Regions from separate parts of the Homo sapiens genome. Here region 1 is linked to region 2. The links are contacts of gene promoters, found by promoter capture Hi-C in human tissues and cell types (Jung and others, 2019). All regions are on one chromosome and are shown on one strand. The core of a region is centred on a gene start or on the middle of the fragment in contact, and the rest is flanking DNA. Distances in the headings are between cores, read along the strand shown.

Region 1 (6,454 bases), core at 2,512-5,011, 490 kb before region 2:
GCAGTGCTGCTGGATGTCTGCCCACCTGGAAGTCTGGTCTAGGATCTCTCTTCTGTCCCAGAGGCTGATCTATTCCTGGTAGAAGCTTTGTGCTAATCGTTTACATCTGCCAACACCAGTCACTCATCTTGCTCTGCTTCACAAGCATCTGACTTATTCTTTGCTTTCTTCTCAGCTTTTTGGGTTGCATGGAGAAACTCAGTTGGGACTTAGATTGGAATTGCATTGAATCTATAAACCAAATCAGGAGAATGAGCATCTTTTGTGATTGAATCTTTCAAAGTGAACATACAGTGAATAATTCCATTTATCTATCTTTCAGCAAAGCTTATAACTTTGGGATTTTTTTCTAGATGCTTTGAGTATTTGGTGCTGTGGATAAGTGGCCTATTTATTTGGGGGACAGGGTCTGACTCTGTCACCCTTTCTGGAGTGCAGTGGTGCAATCATACCTCATTATAGCCCCAACCTCCCTGGCTCAAGTGATCCTCTTGCCTCAGCCACCCCAGTAGCTGGGACTACAGGTTTATGTCACCATTCTTGACTAATTTTTTATTTTTTGTAGATACGGGGTCTCCCTATGTTGCCCAGGCTGGTCTTGAACCCCTGGGCTCAAGCGATCCTCTTGCCTCATCTCCCAAAGTGCTGGGATTACAGTCGTAAGCCACTGTGACCAGCATCTATCAAGCTTTCTCAACTTTTTGTAAACCCAATAATTAGATGTGCACATTCTTTGGGAGTTTATTGCGTATGAGGATGTTATCTGCAAATAAAGACACTCTTTTTTTTTTCTTTTTCCTTTTTTTTTTTTTTTTTGAGGCAGGGTCTCGCTCTGTCACCCAGGCTGGAGTACAGTGGTGCGATCTTGGCTCACTGCAACCTCTGCCTCCTGGGTTCAAGCAATTCTTGTGTCTCAGCCTCCCACATAGCTGGGATTACCCTCCCCAGGCTCAGGTGATCCTCCCACCTTAGCCTCCTGAGTAGCCAGGACTACAGGTACACACCACCATGCCCAGCTAATTTTTTTTTTTTGAGATGGATTCTCACTCTGTCCCCCAGGCTGGAGTGCAGTGGCGCAATCTCGGCTCATTGCAACCTCCACCTCCCTGGTTCAAGCAATTCCCCTGCCTCAGCCTCCCGAGTAGCCGGGATTAGAGAAGGGACAAGAGTGAGTCCAGGTCAGGCAAGCCACCACGCCCAGCTATTTTTTGTATTTTTAGTAGAGATGGGGTTTCGTCACATTGGCCAGGCTGGTCTCGAACTCCTGGCCTCAAGGTCTCGAACGCCTTGGCCTCCCAAAGTGCTGAGATTACAGGCGTGAGCCACCGTGCCAGGCCTAAAGACACCCTTAATTCCTCCTTTCCACTCCTCAGAACTTTCATTTCTTGTTTTCTTTAGTAAAATGCGCAGCACCATGTTAACAGGCATTCCTGCCTTGTTCCAATTCTGAAAGAGAATGTTTCAACGTTCATCATTGATCATTTGGATCCAATTAATTTTTAAGCCCTGGTGCCTCATTTCATTCCCACCAACAGCATAGCTCGGCTGATTCGAAAGGTATTGATTTGAGCTGTCTCCTCCTCCCTCCAATTAATTATGCCATGCTGCTTCTGTCTTCTCTTGCCCTCTCTTCTCTGTGGCCCCCTCTTTTTTTTTTTAGACACAGTTTTCCTCTTGTCATCCAGGCTGGAGTGCAGTGGCATCATCTCAGCCTGCAACCTCCGCCTCCCAGGTTCAAGCGATTTTCCTGCCTTAGCCTCCCAAGTAGCTGGGATTACAGGCATGAGCCACCACACCTGGCTAATTTTGTATTTTTAGTAGAGACGGGGTTTCACCATCTTGGCCAGGCTGGTCTCGAACTCCTGACCTTACGTGATCCACCTGCCTTGGCCTCCCAAAGTGCTGAGATTACAGGCGTGAGCCTCCACACCCGGCCGGCCCCCTCTTTTATTTATTTATTTATTTACTTATTTTTGAGACAGTCTTTGTCACCCAGACTGAAGTGCAGTGACAAGATCTCGGCTCACTGCAACCTCCATGTGGCCCCCTCTTAACTTCATTCCCCTCCAGGTGCATCTGCATTTGGAGCCTTTGCAAACCCTGTGTGACTCTCTGTGTCTTTCCATCTCTCTTCTCTTGGCTTCCAATTTCATGCTTTCTCTCCACCACCCTAGGAAACCCACAAAGAAAAATAATGGAAAGAGAAGTGATGGGAGATAATGTACAGGCTGGTGAAAAGTACAACCCCCCCACCTGCAGAGTGAGGCTACCACTGCCAGCAAATGCAGACACATCATTCCTGCCTTGCTGAGCTCCAGGGCTTCCCCAGGGACCCTGCTCTTATCAAAACCTGCCCACCCCCGGTGCCAAAAGCAGCGATGAAAACATCTGGGCTTTAGATGAGAAGAGTTTCACGGCACAGCATCTGTCCAGCTCAGCTTTTGAATGGAGAATGAATGGTAAGAGCTTTTTTTCTTCTTTTTGTGAGATGGTGTCTCACTCTGTCGCCCAGGCTGGAGTGCAGCGGCACAATCACGGCTCACTGCAGCCTCGACCTCCCCAGGCTCAGGTGATCCTCCCACCTTAGCCTCCTGAGTAGCCAGGACTGCAGGTACACACCACCATGCCCAGCTAAGTTTTTTTTTTTTTTTTTGAAATGGAGTCTCTGTCGCCCGGGCTGGAATGCAATGGCGCAATCTCGGCTCATTGCAACCTCCACCTCTCTGGTTCAAGCAATTCCCCTGCCTCAGCCTCCCGAGTAGCTGGGATTACAGGCGCACGCCACCACACCCAGCTAATTTTTTTTGCATTTTTAGTAGAGAAGGGGTTTCACCATGTTGGCCAGGCTGGTCTCAAAGTCCTGACCTCAGGCAATGTGCCCCCTTCGGCCTCCCAAAGTGCTGGGATTACAGGCATGAGCCACCGCGCCCGGCCCCAGCTAATTTTTTGTACTTTTGTAGAGATGAGGTTTCATCGGGTTTCCCAGTCTGCTCTTGAACTCCTGGGCTCCAGCAATCCTCCCACCTTGGCCTCCCAAAGTGCTGGGATTACAGGCATAAGGTACCCGCACCCGGCTGGGCAGAGCTTTTTCTAGCAGCCCCAATCCAAGGCAAACTTGCTTGGTCTTCAGATAAATTCCCAGTCCTTACGGGGTGCATTTGATGTTCCTGGCACTGTGCAAAGCTCCATGGAGTAGACGGATACCGATGAGACGTCAATTTGTTCAGCCAGCGTTTGCTGGTGCCATCTGGATGCTGGGAACTAAGCTTGTCACCAGGTTCTGCCAGGCGACATTGTCCCTAGCATGGGAAGTGGGAATGAACAAGCAGGCAGAGGAAGTCAAGGACGATTATGAGGCGATGGGAAGGGTCTGGTGACAGAGAGGGATGGAAGGGGTGGGGGAATCTGCTTCCCGGAGGAGGCAACACGAGAGCCAAGATGTAAAAGAGGTGGAGCCAGGCAGGGAGAGAGATGAGGGACAGGCATTCACAGGACAGGTGCAAAGGCCCTGAGGTGAGGCTGTGCCTGGTGTGTTGGAGAAGCCGAGAAGGCTTGTGTGAATGAGTGAGGGGGAGAGAGGAAAAGAGAGAAAGGGGACCGGACATGGTGACTCACCCCTGTAATCCCAGCACTTTGGGAGGCCAAGGCGGGCAGATAACCTGAGGTCAGGAGTTCGAGAGCAGCCTGCCCAACATGGTGAAACCCCGTCTCCACTAAAAAATTACAAAAATTAGACAGGGGTGGTGGTGCACGCCTGTAGTCCCAGGTACTCCAGAAGCTGAGGCAGGAGAATCACTTGAGCCTGGGAGGCAGAAGTTGCAGTGAACAGAGATTGTGCCACTGCACTCCAGCCTGGGCAAAACAGCGAGACTCTGTTTCAAAAAAAAAAAAAAGAAGAAGAAGAAGAAGAAGAAGAATAGAGAGAAAGGGAACTGCGGGGGAAGGTCATTCAGGGCCTCAGGGCAGGGGATGGAGAAGGCTCTGGAATTTACTCTGAGATGGACAGACAGAGAGATGGAGAGAGAGTGACTGAGAAGGAAGAAGAGATGGGGGTTCAGCTCTGCAAGACAGGGCTGAGACTCCAGCCCAAGCCTAAGTGGCCACTGAGGTCTTGTTCTAACCCGTGTCTCCCCACCCCCAGACCTCTCTCTGATGCCCCCAACTGCACTGGCAGGGAGTGACCACCTTGAACGGAAAACGGAATCAGAACACTGTGGGCACTCCATAAACATGAGTGAGTCAGTACGTGGTGGAGGGAGTGAGGGAGGGATGGAGTCGGGGGCGGGGAGGGGGGCAGGTCAGCAGGGATACAGACTATGCCAGGCCTCCTGATCACAGGAAAGAGTGTGGGCTATACTATGAGGGTAATAGGGAGCCACGGGAGGGCTTTGAGCAGAGGAAGGGCGTGATCTGCTTTATGATTTTTTTTTTTTTGAGATGGAGTCTCGCTCTGTCGCCCAGGCTGGAGTGCAGTGGCGCGATCTCGGCTCACTGCAAGCTCTGCCTCCCGGGTTCACGCCATTCTCCTGCCTTAGCCTCCCAAGTAGCTGGGACTATAGGTGCCCACCACCACGCCCAGCTAAATTTTTTTGTATTTTTAGTAGAGACGGGGTTTCATATGTTAGCTAGGATGGTCTCGATCTCCTGACCTCGTGATCTGCCCATCTTGGCCTCTCAAAGTGCTGGGATTACAGGCGTGAGCCACCGCTCCCGGCCTGCTTTATGATTTTAAGAATCCATCTGGGGCTCCCTAGGGGAGCAAGGATGGCTGGGGGCAGGAGTGTAGGTGGCAGGGAGCCAGGACAGCATCCACACAAGATACAGCAGGCCCCTTAGGAGCTCAGGGAGGCTCAGTTTCATTCTGGAGCCGGAGACTGCAGGACCTGCTGATGCACTGAACATGCAGGGTAAGGAAAGAGAAGGGACAAGAATGAGTCCAGGTCAGGTGCAGTGGCTTATGTCTGTAATCCCAGCACTTTGGGAGGCCGAGGCGGGAGGATTCCTTGAGGGAGACCAGGATTTTGAGATCAGCCTGGGCAACAGAGTGAGACCCCATCTCTACAAAAATTTTTAAATGAGCTGGGCATGGTGGTGTGTGCCTGTAGTCCCAGCTACTCAGGAGGCTGCAGTGGGAGGACTGCCTGAGCCAAGGAGATGGAGGCTGCAGTGAGCTATGACTGCACTACTGCACTCCAGCCTGGGTCTAGGTGACAGAGTGAGACTCTGTCTCTTTTTTAGTTTGTTTGTTTTGTTTTGTTTGTTTGAGACAGAGTCTCCCTCTGTTGCCCAGGCTGGAGTGCAGTGGCACAATCTCGGCTCACTGCAACCTCCGCCTCCTAGGTTCAAGCGATTCTTGTACCTCAGCCTCCTGAGTAGCTGGGATTACAGGCACCCGCCACCACGCCCCACTAGTTTTTTGTATTTTTAGTAGAGACAGGTTTTCACCATGTTGGCCAGGCTGGTTTTGAACTCTTGACCTCAAGTGATCTGCCTGCCTCAGCCTCCCAAGGTGCTAGGATTACAGGCATGAGCTACCACGCTCGGCTGACCCTGTCTCTTAAAAAAATAAAATAAAGAGGGCCGGGCGCGGTGGCTCACGCTTGTAATCCCAGCACTTTGGGAGGCCGAGGCAGGTGGATCACGAGGTCAGGAGATCGAGACCATCCTGGCTAACACAGTGAAACCCCGTCTCTACTAAAAATACAAACAATTAGCCAGGCATGGTGGCGGGCGCCTGTAGTCCCAGCTACTCACGAGGCTGAGGTGGGAAAATGGCATGAGCCTGGGAGGTGGAGCTTGCAGTGAGCCGAGATGGCGCCACTGCACTCCAGCCTGGGCAACAGAGCAAGACTCCATCTCAAAAAAAATAAAATAAAATAAAATAAAGAGCGTATCCAGGAATCAGGACCCAGGCTACTGTGTGATAGTGGAGGCACCAACAGGATGGAGAAGGGGCAGATCTCAGGGCGAGTAACTATTCTAAGAGCCAGGTTTTGGCCTTGTGAGTGTGAAATGCCTGCAAGGCACTCAGTGGAAATATCCAATGCCATTGGATACTGAGGCCTGGAGCTCTGGGGAGATGCAGGCTGGAGACACCAATGGGATAGTCGACAACACGCAATGAGGTGTGGCTATTTGGGGCAAGGGCATAGATACAAGGTCAAGGGACACCCTGCTCTTCCAGGACTATCAAAGCCAAGACATCACACCCAGGGGTCCACCCTTTACAACTCTGTCCATGCCCAACGCCAGTCCCTGTTATCAGGTCAGCAGGAATGCTACCTGCAGGGAACATGGAATTCAGTGTCCTTGGGCTTACCATAGGTGCTCCTCTTCTTCTCTCAAGTGCCTATTTATTTATTTATTTATTTATTTATTTATTTATTATTTGAGATGGAGTATCACTCTGTCACTAGGCTGGAGTGCAGTGGCGCAATCTTGGCTCACTGCAACC
Region 2 (5,874 bases), core at 725-3,224:
TAACACGGTGAAACCCTGTCTCTACTAAAAATATAAAAAATTAGCCGGGTTTGGTGGCGGGAACCTGTAGTCCCAGCTACTCGCCAGGCTGAGGCGGGAAAATGGCGTGAACCCGGGAGGTGGAGCTTGCAGTGAGCCAAGATCGCGCCACTGCACTCTAGCCTGGGCCACAGAGCGAGACTCTCTCAAAAAAAAAAAAGAAACTCCGTAAAATATTTAAAGAGGTTAATTCTGAGCCAAACGTGAGTGACCACGGCCCTAGGCACAGCCTTTTTTTTTTTTTTTTTTTTTTTTTTTTGAGACAGTCTCGCTCTGTGGCCCAGACTGGAGCTATCTCGGTTCACTGCAACCTCCACCTCTCGGGTTCAAGAGATTACCCTGCCTCAGCCTCCCGAGTGGCTGGGATTACAGGCGCCCACCACCACGCCCCTGGCTAATTTCTGTATTTTTAATAGAGATGGGGTTTTACCATGTTGGCCAGGCTGGTTTTGAATTCCTGACCTCAGGTGATCCAGCTGCCTCCGCCTCCCAAACTGTTTGGGATTACAGGCGTGAGCCACTGCGCCTGGCCAATCCCCACCTTCTTGACTGACCATTTAAAAAATGTAAGAAACACCTTTAGCTCATCATGAGCAGCACAAAACAGGCAGGGACAGGATTTGGCCCTGAGGCAGGAGAATAGGTCTGGAGGCAGGGAACATAAGGCCAAATCAAATGGAAACAATTCAGCTATGACAGGAAATATCTTCTCCATTTAAAGAGGGCATACATCCAGTAAATGACTTTGTAACTTTACTTCATCCTCTTCATTTACATAGGACGTACATTAAGTAACCAGTGAAAACCTCTAGAGGGCATTTAAACCCCAGAAAATTCTTAAACAGGTCTCTTGAGTCCGTATGCTCCACTGGCTCCCACCCTGCGGAGTGTACTTTCGTTTTCAATAAATCTCTGCTTTTGTTAAGCTTCATTCTTTCCTTGCTTTGTTTGTGCACTTTGTCCAATTCTTTGTTCAAGATGCCAAGAACCTGCACACCTTCAACAGTTAACAGCCCACAGGCAGTAGTTTGCGACTCTAGTAGAGAATGCATAGGGATTTCCATTGAAAATCATTTTTTAAGCCAGTTACGGTGGTTCACGCCTATCATCATCCCAGCACCTTGGGAGGCCAAGGCGGGTGGATCTCTTGAGGTCAGGAGTTCGAGACCAGCCTGGCTAACATGGCAAAACCCCTGTCTAGACCAAAAATACAAAATTAGTTGGGCGTGGTGGCCCGTGCCTGTAATCCCAGCTGTTTGGGAGGCTGCGACACGAGAATCGCTTGAACCCGGGAGGGAGAGGTTGCGGTGAGCCGAGATCGCGCCACCGCACTCCAGCCTGGGTGACAGAGCGAGACTCCATTTCAAAAAAAGAAAAAAAATAATTGTTCCCTACGGGAACGGTATAATTAGGATATAATTGTTTCTGGCCACAGATCACATCCCTTCTGGTTAAGTCCAGGAGAATCTGGAAATACGTAGGGCAACCAGGCCAGAAGGCGTTGTAACTGCCTAAGATTGACCAACCCTAACGCGGGAGGCGGGACGACGGTCACTGATTTGCCAGCGTGACGCCGGTCTGCGACTGGCCAGTGCCGTCCTGGGCGTGTCGGTAGGACGGGGCTGCGACGGTTTCCCATAGGCTGGCACAGAAAGGGGCGGGGAAACAAGAGTGCAACGTTACCAATCGGCATGCGGGACGTAACGCAATTCTTTTTTCCGATTGGTCCGTGAAGCTCGGGAGGTCGTTGGGGGCTCGACCTTGGGATAGAACGCCTGCCTTTTATTGGTCAATACTCTTCGGGCCGGGCAATGTGGCTCCCCGAGGCTGCCTGCGATTGGTGAACGCGTCGCGGCTCGGGGCGGACCTGCGGACTGAAGATCCTTATGCGATTGGCCGGGGAGCCGGAGGGGCGGGCAATTTGGGATCGACAGTGACTCGCGACTGGTCGGCGCGGCGAAAGCAGAGCGGCGCGCCGGTTCCTTGGTTCCTGAGGGCGATGGCGCGGGGTGGCTGGCGCCGGCTACGCCGCCTGTTATCCGCGGGGCAGCTTCTATTCCAGGGCCGCGCGCTGCTCGTCACTAACACGCTGGGCTGCGGCGCGCTCATGGCGGCCGGTGATGGCGTGCGCCAGTCCTGGGAGATCCGCGCCCGGCCCGGCCAGGTTTTCGACCCACGGCGCTCCGGTGAGGACGCCACGCTGCTTAGTCCTTCACCCCGGGCGACCTTTGATCCCGACACCCGACTGCGGGCCGTGACCCCTGACCCGTGGCCTCAGTCCCCCGCAGGACCCTTGCCCTGACCGCGCCTCTCCCCGGGTGTCTGTCTCCCCGCAGCTCTGGGTCTCCATCACCTCCCAACCCCCGGAGGTCTCTGCCCACTACCCAGGAGCCTCTGGAGCCGCGCCTCCTGGTGGGGCTTGTAGTGGAAGAATGCACGGGTGGGCTCTTCCGGTTTTCCCGGTGAGGCTGAGGCTCCGGGATGGCATTGGGCTTACCCAGGCCTTAGCCAGGGAGGGAGAGAGGGAATGGACTGAGGAACTTGCCGGCCCGACCCAGCCCCCTGACTTACACTCTTATAGCGAGCATGTTTGCGGTGGGCTGCAGCATGGGTCCCTTCCTGCACTACTGGTACTTGTCGCTGGACCGCCTATTCCCTGCGTCTGGCCTCCGAGGCTTCCCAAATGTCCTCAAGAAGGTCCTCGTGGATCAGCTGGTAGCCTCTCCATTGCTGGGCGTCTGGTACTTCTTGGGTAAGGAGCCTCCTAAGCCTAGGCTTTGCCTCTCATAGGTCGGGAGGGGTGGAGCCAGCTTTGTGTTAAGAAGGATGCAGAGGTGCATTTCCAATTTGCCCCCTGTTTGGGTCGCCCTGGACTAGGAGCCAGGTCACAGCGGGGACAGGACGGACTCGGCCGATGTGAACGCTGGCGAGTGTAGGAGGGACGAGGACTGTATCTGTTGGGGCTGCCCTGGGCGGGAGGTTGAGAGCATTTCCCAAAGAAGGGGACCACACTCAGTTGAGACATGAAGAGGGAACCAGCGGGCAGAGGGAACAGCTAATGCAAAGGCTCTGAGGCCTGAAGGAAGAGAAATTGAGGCTAGACTTAATGGGGTGCAACCGTGCCAGCCCTAGGCTCGGTAAAGACAGCGGTATTAATAGAGGAGTCTCTCATTCTCCACCTCCCAGCCCGGCTTCCTGGTCTGTGATGGAAAAGTAACACAACTCCCTCAACTTCAGGGTGTCTCCATTGGGGCACGTGTTTATATGTTTATAACCTCTCTTTCTCTCACTGGGACTGACTTGCTCTGTTTTGTCTCTACACCAGCTACCCTAATTCTCTGTCCATCCCATCTGAAAGTCCCTGTCCCTCTGCCCGGGGTGGGCGGCGTGGGCTCTCAGGGGCCCAACCCCGCCCCCTCCATCGTCAGCCCATCTTGTCGTCTCAACAGTACTTCCTGGCCTCTAACACTCTCATTTCTTGGTTTGCTTCCCAGGCCTTGGCTGCCTGGAGGGTCAGACAGTGGGTGAGAGCTGCCAGGAGCTGCGGGAGAAGTTCTGGGAATTCTACAAGGTGGGAGCACCCGCCCCTTGCACATGTCCGGCCCCGCCCCCTGATGGCCGCTCCGCCCCCGCCCAGCTCTGGCCCCGCCCCTCATCCCCCGCCTCTCCCCGCAGGCAGACTGGTGCGTGTGGCCTGCTGCGCAGTTCGTGAACTTCCTCTTCGTGCCCCCCCAATTTCGAGTCACCTACATCAACGGCCTGACGCTGGGCTGGGACACGTACCTGTCCTACTTGAAGTACCGGGTGAGTGTGGAGGGCATACCAGGCACCCAGGGGACTCCCCAGGGGGCTACACGTGTGAGCTCCAAGTGGCAGTGTAGCCAGCCACCCTGGAGGGTGGGAGTCTCCTGTGCTCCTGACAACCCACACCCAACAGTGGGCTGGCGGAGAGCTCCTCACTAGCAGTTAAGACCCAGCCGTGGCTGAGCGCCGTGGCTCATGCCTGTAATCCCAGCACTTTGGGAGGCCGAAGCGGGTGGATCGCCTGAAATTGGAGTTAGAGAGCAGACTGGGCAATATGGTGAAACCCCTTCTCTACTAAAAATACAAAAAATTACTGGTACGCACCTGTAATTCCAGTTACTTGAGAGGCTGAGGCAGGAGAATTGCTTGAACCCAGGAGGCAGAGGCTGCAGTGAGCCAAGATCATGCCACTGCACTCCAGCCTAGGTGACAGAGCGAGACTCCGTTTCAAAAAAAAAAGACCCATGCCGGGCGCGGTGGCTCACGCCTGTAATCCCAGCACTTTGGGAGGCCGAGGCAGGCGGATCACGAGGTCAGGAGATCGAGACCGTCCTGGCTAACATGGTGAAACCCTGTCTCTACTAAAAATACAAAAAAAAAATTAGCCGGGCGTGGTGGCGGGCGCCTGTAGTCTCAGCTACTCCGGAAGCTGAGACCGGAGAATGGCCTGAACCCGGGCAGCGAAGCTTGCAGTGAGCCGAGATCGCGCCACTGCACTCCAGCCTGGGCGACAGTTCGAGACTCCGTCTCAAACAAACAAAAAGACCCAACCCTTCTCTGCTGTCTGATGTGACCTCAGCCCGGTCCCTGCCAAGTCTGTTGAGCAGGGCTGACCTCTGGCCCAAGGGCAGGTAGAGGGACAGGGAGGGATGAGCCAGGCTTCTGACCAGATGCCTTGTCTTGTGTGGACAGAGCCCAGTTCCTCTGACACCCCCAGGCTGTGTGGCCCTGGACACCCGAGCAGACTGAACTGTCTGCTTCCTGGACCAGATGCAAGACTGTCTCCTGGCGGACCACCCCCTCTGACAGAAGGGGAATGGGCTCCTGCAGCAAGCTCGGGTCTTGAGCCACGTCCCAGCACCACTTCAGCTCCGGAGCATTGGGCTGAGCCGCCCTTTCCAAGCTCACTTCTGGGACTGAGTTTCCTCAACCGGAACACACCCATGAAGATGGATGATCATCCCCTAGCCCTTCTCAGCAGGAACCTCATGCGACCTGTGACCAAGATGTCCCATCCTCAGCACAGGGCCCACTCTGCCAACCAGTCTCAAGCACCAGCCCCTCAACACTGCCATCCACCTGGCTCTGGGCCAAGCCACCAATCCAGAGCTCCCTCAGGTCCTGGGACTAAGGCGGGGACATGACTGATCCCCTCAGAGCAGGCTCAGGCCTGGAGTCGGCCCCCAAAAGTTTCACATAGGGCCAGGCAGCCTCTGTGTTTCTTTCCCTGGTCCTGAACTGTGGAAATGCCATTAAACTCTCTCTATAATGTAACTGAAACTGCTGGCTGGGCGCAGTGGCTCCCACCTGTAATCTCAGCCCTTCCCGAGGCTGAGGTGGAAGGATTGCTCGAGGCCAGGTGTTCGAGACCAGCCTGGGCAACATAGCAAGACCCTGTCTCTATTTATATTGAAAAATAAAAATAACAAAAGAAAATGCTGTGGATGATCAAAACCAGGGTGGGCAGGACCCGGTGCTCACAGGGACACACATGGATGGTCCATTCGCTTTATTGGGTGCGTGTAGTGTTGTCATGACATCTCCTAAGGAACTGGGGGGCACGTTTGACACTCATGAGGTCAGAACAGGTCTGGTGGGCGGGGGGGGGGGGGGTCCCAGGGTGGTGAATACCCACAGCACACCCCCCCACCAAAAGAGAAAACGGGGAGAGGAGCCTGGCAGGCCAGACTCTGATCCCCATGGTCCACACAGGGAAACCCCCAACAGCGGCCTCGGCCCACCGCGGCAGAGCCGAGGGGCTGGCAGGCCTGGCCACCTCCCATTGCCCGATCAGCCTGCTTTAGGGTGTCA

Evidence for each region. Contacts are between HindIII fragments. The study calls those that stand out against the background at their distance.
Region 1: a contact is called between a fragment that was not itself captured here and the fragment with the promoter of MPV17L2 in region 2, in 1 of the 25 tissues and cell types used here (hippocampus).

Annotation. Positions count from the first base shown.
Region 1 is chr19:17,695,812-17,702,265 of GRCh38, forward strand. No RefSeq gene overlaps it. Among named protein-coding and RNA genes, the nearest start is that of UNC13A, 11 kb to the left of the region's middle. RefSeq lists a silencer at 5,548-5,775. The HindIII fragment of the contact is 6,509 bases long and covers 508-6,454 here.
Region 2 is chr19:18,191,244-18,197,117 of GRCh38, forward strand. MPV17L2 (MPV17 mitochondrial inner membrane protein like 2) reads left to right here and starts at 1,975. Exons shown (of 5, transcript NM_032683.3): 1 at 1,975-2,225; 2 at 2,621-2,791; 3 at 3,534-3,610; 4 at 3,715-3,843; 5 at 4,756-5,705. The coding sequence starts at 2,039. The coding sequence ends at 4,812. RAB3A (RAB3A, member RAS oncogene family) reads right to left here. Exons shown (of 5, transcript NM_002866.5): 5 at 5,541-5,874. RefSeq lists a silencer at 1,500-1,679 and an enhancer at 2,070-2,119. The HindIII fragment of the contact is 8,354 bases long and covers 1-5,874 here.